Regions from separate parts of the Homo sapiens genome. Here region 2 is linked to region 1. The links are contacts of gene promoters, found by promoter capture Hi-C in human tissues and cell types (Jung and others, 2019). All regions are on one chromosome and are shown on one strand. Each heading gives the region's core, a stretch centred on a gene start or on the middle of the fragment in contact. The rest is flanking DNA. Distances are from core to core; before and after follow the strand shown.

What was found. The method cuts DNA at HindIII sites, captures the fragments that hold promoters and counts their contacts. A contact is called where the count stands out against the background at its distance.
Region 2: a fragment that was not itself captured here is called in contact with the fragment with the promoter of ZNF443 in region 1 in 3 of the 25 tissues and cell types used here (H1 embryonic stem cells, IMR-90 fibroblasts and dorsolateral prefrontal cortex).

Annotation. Positions count from the first base shown.
Region 1 is chr19:12,438,885-12,442,881 of GRCh38, reverse strand. ZNF443 (zinc finger protein 443) reads left to right here and starts at 1,861. Exons shown (of 4, transcript NM_005815.5): 1 at 1,861-1,970. The coding sequence starts at 1,968. RefSeq lists an enhancer at 1,413-1,682 and a silencer at 2,093-2,182. The HindIII fragment of the contact is 16,773 bases long and covers 1-3,997 here.
Region 2 is chr19:12,178,822-12,182,509 of GRCh38, reverse strand. All of the region lies in intron 1 of ZNF136 (zinc finger protein 136), which reads right to left. Among named protein-coding and RNA genes, the nearest start is that of ZNF136, 18 kb to the right of the region's middle. The HindIII fragment of the contact is 3,876 bases long and covers 1-3,688 here.

The DNA.
Region 1 (3,997 bases), core at 612-3,111:
CAAAGAAAACCCCAGAACCCAGTGGCTCCACTGCTGAATTCTACCAACATTTAAAAAAGAACTAATACCAATCTTACTCAAACTATTCCAAAAAACAGAGGAGAAGGCAATACTTCCAAATTTATTTTACAAAGCCAATATTACTTTGACACCAAAACCAGACAAAGACATGTCAGAAAAAGAAAACTATAGGCCAGTGTCACTGATGAATATTGATGCAAAAATCCTCAACTCAATACTAGCAAACTGAATTTAACAATACACCAAAAAGATCATTCATCATGACCAAGTGGGCTTTATCCCTGGGATGCAAGGATGGTTCAATATATGCAAATCAATCAATGTGATGTATCATTTCAACAGAATAAAGGGCAAACACCATATAATCATTTCAATGTGCACTGAAAAAGCTTTTGATAATATTTAACATCCCTTCATGATAAAAACCCTAAAAAAAAGTGGGTAAAGAAGGAGCATACCTTAACATAATAAAAGCTATATATGGCAGACCCACAGCTAGCATGATAATGAATGGGGAAAAACTGAAAGCCCTTCCTGTAAGATCTGGAACACAATAAGAATGCCCACTTTTACCACTGTTGTTCAACACAGTACTTGAAGTCCCAGCTAGAGCAATAAGACAAAAAAAAAAAAAAGAAAAAAAAAGAAATAAAGGGCATCCATATTGGGAAGGAAGAAGTCAAATTATCCTTGTTTGCATATAATATGATCTTATATCTGGAAATACCTAAAGACTCCACCAAAAAAGTATTAGAACTGAGAAATAAATTCAGTAAAGTTGCAGTATACAATATCAACACACAAAAATCAATAACATTTTTATATGCCAACAGTGAACAATCTGAAGCTACTTGAGAGGCTGAGGTGGGAGGATTGCTTGAGCTTAGGAGGTAGAGGTTGCAGTGAGCCATGATGGCCCCACTGCACTCCAGCCTAGGTAACAGAGCAAGACCCCATCTCAAACAACCAAAAATGTGTAGAAGGATGGTTACCAGAGGCTGCGAAAAGTAGTAGCGAGGAGTAGTTATGGGGGAAGTGGGGATGGTTAATAGGTATAAAAAATAGTTACAAAGAATGAATAAGACCTAGTATTTGCTAGCACAACAGAGTGACTATAGTAAAAAATAATTTAATTGTACATTGAAAAATCTTGAAAAATTTCATTGAAAAAGAGCATAATTGGAGCCAGGCGCAGTTGCTCACGCCTCTAATCCCAGAACTTTGGGAGGCCAAGGTAGGCGGATCACGAGGTCACGAGTTTGAGACCAGCCTGGCCAACATGGTGAAACCCAGCCTCTACTGAAAAATACAAAAATTAGCCGGGTGGTGGCGCGTGCCTGTAATCCTAGCTACTCGGGAGGCTGAGGCAGGAGAATTGCTTGAACCCACCCAGGAGGCGAAGGTTGCAGTGAGCCTCGCACCATTGCACTCTAGCCTGGGCGACAGAGCAAGACTCCCTCTCGAGGAAAAAAAAAAAAAAAGATATAATTAGTTTGTCAGTCCGTGTCCAGGAGGAAGAAGCAGGAGGTCCTATTGAGTACGGGCAGGAAATTCCGCTTAAGTGCAAATATAACCCGGGAGGATTCAGATCAAAGAGCAGGGAGGAAGCCCCCCCTGCCAAGGGCTGTGTCAGGAACTTGCTCATCCGGCTCCACTCAGCTGTGCAAGATCGCTTCTTCTGTCAATCAGCCCTCAGGGGGCGGGACCTGACGCCCTATCCAATCAGGGGCGTGGGGCGGGTTCGTGGGAACTGTCAATCAGGCACTGCCCAGAGAAGTGTGTGTGGTTGAAAAAGCCCGCGGCGTCTGCTCCACCCACCTGCGCTCGGCTCTGGGTTCTGTAGCTGAGAGACGACCTGGAAGTTCTGAGGCAGCCTTTGTCTGGCTGGAACACGCATTGGCAGCGGGAGCTGTCGGTAGGACCTGGGACACCGCGGAAGTCGGGAAATGGTGCGTGTGCTGGGCCGGCGTCCCGAGGCGGGGGAGGGGTTAGGTGGAACCGGCCGTAATCGGCTGTGGCTGGACCCGGGCCTCCCCAAGGGCGACTTCGGGATCTACGGACCCGGGTCCCCCTGGCGTAGGTCGGCCCTCGGCCGCAGGGTGGGGCTGGGCATGCAGCCGGGACCCCGGGCGTCCTGTCCCGTTCCTGCGCGGCGACTGCGGCCCCGGCGCCCTCTCTGGGCAGCTCCGAGCCCGCAGCCCCGGGTCTCCCCAGATTGTGCGGCTGTAACCAACACAGGTTCGCGGCCCGACTCACTGCACCGAGACGCCGAGGGCTGCAGCAGAAACGGTTTAACAGGAGGAGAGGGGAGGACACCCCAGATCCGCCTCCCTGAGGGATTTGGGGTCTGGACGGGGGCGGCTGGGTGTAGCGTCCTTGGTTGGTGGGGAAGTGAGGGGTGAATCCTGGGACAGGAGGTGAAGAAACCGCATTCTGCTGAGAGGGCTCCCTCGTGGGGTCTTCAACCTGGTTGGCGCCAGCCTTTCTGCTGGGATTCAGGATCTGAGAACTCCGGCGACTCTTGAGCAGCACTCGGAGATCTTATCCCCAGGCACAATGGGGAAGCCGGCGGTCAGCGTCTGCTGTGACCTGACTCTCAGGGAGGCGGCCCCTTGAGGCAGCGGGGCTGAGGGCACCTGTTTAATATCTAACTGCAATCTCGCCTCCAGCCTGGCTCGCAGTTCCTGTGAACCCGGTGAGGAGGCTGCACGGTGACGACGAGTCACCAGGTGGAATCCAGACTCGTGTGTGGGGTTTGTGTGTGGGAGGAGCTGTGGTTTCCGTGGTCCTCAGTCCTTTCTTCCTTTCCAAGGGCGACCGTTTCCCCTCTGAGTCTTCCAAAGACGTGGGCAGCAGGGTCTCAAATCCACCACTGTGTTCTCTCATCCTGACTCTTCCTAGGGCTGGCAGCAAATCTCTTGGTTTCCAGAGACTTCCCCAGGCTAACCTTCTGTCCTTAATTCACAGCAACAGTATGAACTGTTTGGCCCCAGGCGATATTTCACTAGTTTGTCATCTTGTTTTCAGCTAGCAATGTATGGCTTTTTCTTGAAAGAATTGTTTTGGGTTCCTGAACACGGTGGGTCATTCCTGTAATTCCAGCACCTTGGGAGGCTAAGGCAGAGGTATTGCTTGATCCCAGTAGTTCCAGACCAGCCTGGGCAACATGGCAAGACTTTGTCTCTAGTGTAAATGATAATAATAAAATTAGCTGGGCTTGGTAGCTGGCACCTGTAGTCGCAGCTACTCCTGAGGCTGAGGTGGGATGATGGCTGGAGCCCAGGAGTTTGAAGTTGCAGTGAGCTATGATCGTGCCTCTGCATCCCAGCCTAGGCAACAGAGGCCGACCCTGTCTCAAAAAAAATGGATGTCCACAGCTGCCAAGTCTCTTGGAGGGTCTAGTGAATATCATCCCCTGGGTCACTCCTCCCAGGGGACAGCCTGAGATGGAAGGTGTGGCCCCCTGGGGAGCAACTGGATCCACTGGGATGGGAGGAATCTTCTGGTATATAATTCCTGTAAAAAGCTAACTCCTGGGACACTCACCTTTTCTTCCCAACCCTAGTTTCCATTCCTTGGAGACACATGACTGAACAGCCAATTTCATGGTCATATTCCATAGGAAAAAAAACGGAAATGATTTTTGCCTTCTGGACTCTCTCAGACTTAAAAGGTAGAAAGTTATATCTAAGGACTGGAGAACCTGCCCTTTGAGGTAGTGCAAGATCCTGAAAAGCACACAAGGCAGTGTCTCCTAGGAGGGTGGTGAGTGTCTCCTAGGAGGGTGGCGAACAGAATAGGGTTAAGGGATGTCCCAGGTGATAGGATGACCTGCACTGATTGTTGCATTAGACTTTTCTGTGTTCCAGTCAGCACTGCTGATTCCTGAGTTTGTTAGCTTGAAAAGATATGTTTACTCTTTTCAGCCTAAATTTTTGATTAACCGTGAAATACATCCTATGATTAGAGATTGTTA
Region 2 (3,688 bases), core at 594-3,093, 260 kb after region 1:
AGGAAGAGTAAACCATGTCACTGCTTCTAGGTCCAAGGCATCCAGGGGCTCCCCTGAGGGGCCACATGAGCTGATACTCACTAGACCCTCCAAGAGACATGGAAGCTATGGGCTTCTTGGGGCAGCCCCAGTCAGTTCTGAACCCCAGGACCAGGAAAAGAGAGGACAGGCTGAGGGCAATCAACCCTGCAAAGTTTCCAAAGGGGAACCTCAATGCAAAGGCATTCTGATAAGGGTTTGCACTTAGAGAAGATAAAAGAGAGACACAAAGCTTTTTCACAATGGAGTTTCAGGTGGTTATTCTCTGCTTACCTCTCAGGCGAAAAGGTCACAAACATAAAAGAAATCTTTATAAAACTGTCATCCACTGCCTTCTGCAAAAATGATAAACTTAAAATATGACATCTTTCTCTAATGGAGAAGGAAGGACAAATAGTCAGCTGGGCATGGTGACTCACACCTGTAATTCCAGCACTTTGGGAGGCCAAGGTGGGTAGATCACTTGAGGTCAGGAGTTCGAGACCAGCCTGGCCAACACGGTGAGACCCCATCTCTACTAAAAAACACAAAAAAATGGCCGGGCGCGGTGGCTCACACCTGTAATCCCAGTACTTTGGGAGGCAGAGACAGGCGGATTGCGAGGTCAGGAGATCGAAACCATCCTGGCTAATATGGTGAAACCCTGTCTCTACTAAAAATACAAAGAAATTAGCCGGGCGTAGTGGTGGGTGCCTGTAGTCCCAGCTACTCGGGAGGCTGAAGCAGGAGAATGGTGTGAACCCGGGAGGCGGAGCTTGCAGTGAGCCAAGATCACACCACTGCCCTCCAGCCTGGGCGACTCAGTGAGGCTCTGTCCCCCCCCAAAAAAAATTAGCTGGGCGTGGTGGCAGGTGCCTGTAATCCCACCTACTCAGGAGGCTGAGGCAGGAAAATCGCTTGAATCCAGGAGGCGGACATTGCAGTGAGTGGAGATTGCGCCACTGCATTCCAGCCTCGGCGACAGAATGAGACTCCACCAAAAAAAAAAAAACAAAAACAAATGCAAAAACAAAACAAAACAAAAAAACCAAATAGTTGATAACACTGTGCATCCGAGAACAGAAGCTGGTGTTGGGGACTGCAGAAATTATACCTACAATTTAGCAGTTTGCTGCCAGATCAAGGAGAGTTAGGCCGGGGGTGGATTTGATACCCTGCTTCCCACACATTTGAGCAACTCAGATGAAACAGAATCGGATGCTGATGGCGAGGAGGCCTGGGCCCCTCCAGCCATGTCGGACCCCAGGCCCCTGCACACTTGCCATTTCCCACACTCGCCATTTCCCATCTTCGGGGTCTCCTGGGTCCTCCCTCCGGCTACCACGGCCAGCACAGAGCACAGAGCCAGGGCAGTGGAGCCAGGAGCCAGAAGAAAGGTAATGCAGCCAGCTCAAGAAAAGAAAATTCACCACAAGATCGTACAGGGTGGGGTGAGGTTGGGGGCAGACAGGGCTCTGAGGCGCGCCTGATTGGACAATAAGTAGGATGCCATCCTGGCACCCCTAACTGGATATAACTTCAGGCTCCGCCCCTGTGGCTTAAGGGGCAGAACACTTAAGATGTTTCAACAGGGATCCAACGTGGTTCTAGCACACACCGTATGCAGTGGTGTGCCTTCCTCCAGGTTCCAGATACCCATGTCCAAAGTCAGCATCACATATTACATGCATTAAAATTTTTAACCAATGCAAAAATGACAATAAGCCATACCTATATCTTTACGGGGAATCATTATTGTTAACCTCAAAAAGGCAGGACTGTCTATATTGCTATGCACTATCTACATCCACACTTAAGCAGTTCCTGAAATGGTGCTGAAGATGTATAAGAGGTGGAAATATAAATGACCGATGGTGACATTTCTTCACTCACTGATGTTGCCACCCTCCACAGAGAACATATACACACACCCTCAGCTTCCGTATTATCTCACACCATCATTTACTTTCCTTCAAAGTGCTTATTTCCTTCTTATAAACCAGTCTTACCATTTTTTCAACCCCTCTCCTTTCTCACAAAAATATAAGCACCAGGATTTCAAGAATTTATTCACTTTGTGTTCCCATATCAGAGCCTTCAGTGCCTGCATCATTTGTGCTTAATTCTGGATGTTCTGAGTCTACAGTTCTGGCATATGAGGCATATTGAAAAATTAGCATCAAGAGCATATTATCTGAGCAAGAGAGGCTTGATTAGAATAGTGATCATGTCTCTGTCCCTTGCTAGGTTTATATTCTGACAACTTTCCTAGAGGCATTAGCCTAATTTGACTAATAAGGGAGACTTTTAAAAATTATCAGTAGTTGGCCGGGGGCGGTGGCTCACGCCTGTAATCCCAGCACTTTGGGAGACCGAGGCAGGCAGATCACGAGGTCAGGAGATCAAGACCATCCTGGCTAACATGGTGAAACCCCGTCTCTACTAAAATTACAAAAAAATTAGCCGGGTGTGGTGGCGGGCACCTGTAGTCCCAGCTACTCGGGAGGCTGAGGCAGGAGAATGGTGTGAACCCGGGAGGTGGAGCTTGCAGTGAGCCGAGACTGCGCCACTGCACTCCAGCCCGGGCAACAGAGCCAGACTCTGTCTCAAAAAAAAAAAATTATCAATAGTTAGAATTTATATATTTCAACTGAGGTATCTTATGGGAAGCCATGTCTAATTCATCATAAGAAATATTTCAGTGTTTAGGTAATAAACTTAGCGCCACTCCATCTTTTTTACTTCTGGGTAAGAACTATCATAATAACCAAGGCCAGAAATAACCTTGCTTCTTCATAGTATACAATCCAGAGAAGCTTCTTGCTTTGAATAGCAATCAATACACCTGAAGCAAGCACACGTCCTAGAAGAAATTCTTTTGGGCTGGGTGTGGTGGCTCACGCCTGTAATCCCAGCACTTTGGGAGGCCGAGGCTGGCAGACCACCTGAGGTCAGGAGATCGAGACCACCCTGGCCAACATGGAGGAACCCCGTCTCTATAAAAAATACAAAAATTAACCAGGCATGGTGACCTGTGCCTGTAATCCCAGCTACTCAGGAGGGTGAGGCAGGAGAATAGCTTGAACCTGGAAGGCAGAGGTTGCAGTAAGCCCAGACTGTGCCACTTGCACTCCAGCCTGGCCGACAGAGTGAGACTCCATCTCAAAAAAAAAAGAAAAAAAAAAAAAGAAATTCTTTTGAGCGCTCTCCTATTGATACACCACACAGTCACGTATGGTTTACTATCATATTTATGATGACTTTTTTTTATACCTTCTTTGACAGGAGCTATGGTCCTGATAATCTTTGGAAAAAGGTTAAAAGCTTGATTTAACTTTTGGTATCATAAGTGAATGAGAAATAATTCTTGTGATAAAAACTGTGACTACATGAGCATGAAAATGAAAATTTATGTGAAAAAAACACACCTAAAATTGTATGCACAGAATATTGATTCACAATTTTTCTTTTTTTTTTTTCTTTCTTTCTTTTTTTTCTTTTGTGAGACAGAGTCTCATTCTGCTGCCCAGGCTGGAGTGCAGTGGCATGATCTCGGCTCACTGCAAGCTCCGCCTCCCAGGTTCATGCCATTCTCCTGCCTCAGCCTCCCGAGTAGCAGGGACTATGGGTGCCCGCCACCACGCCCGGCTAATTTTTGCATTTTTAGTAG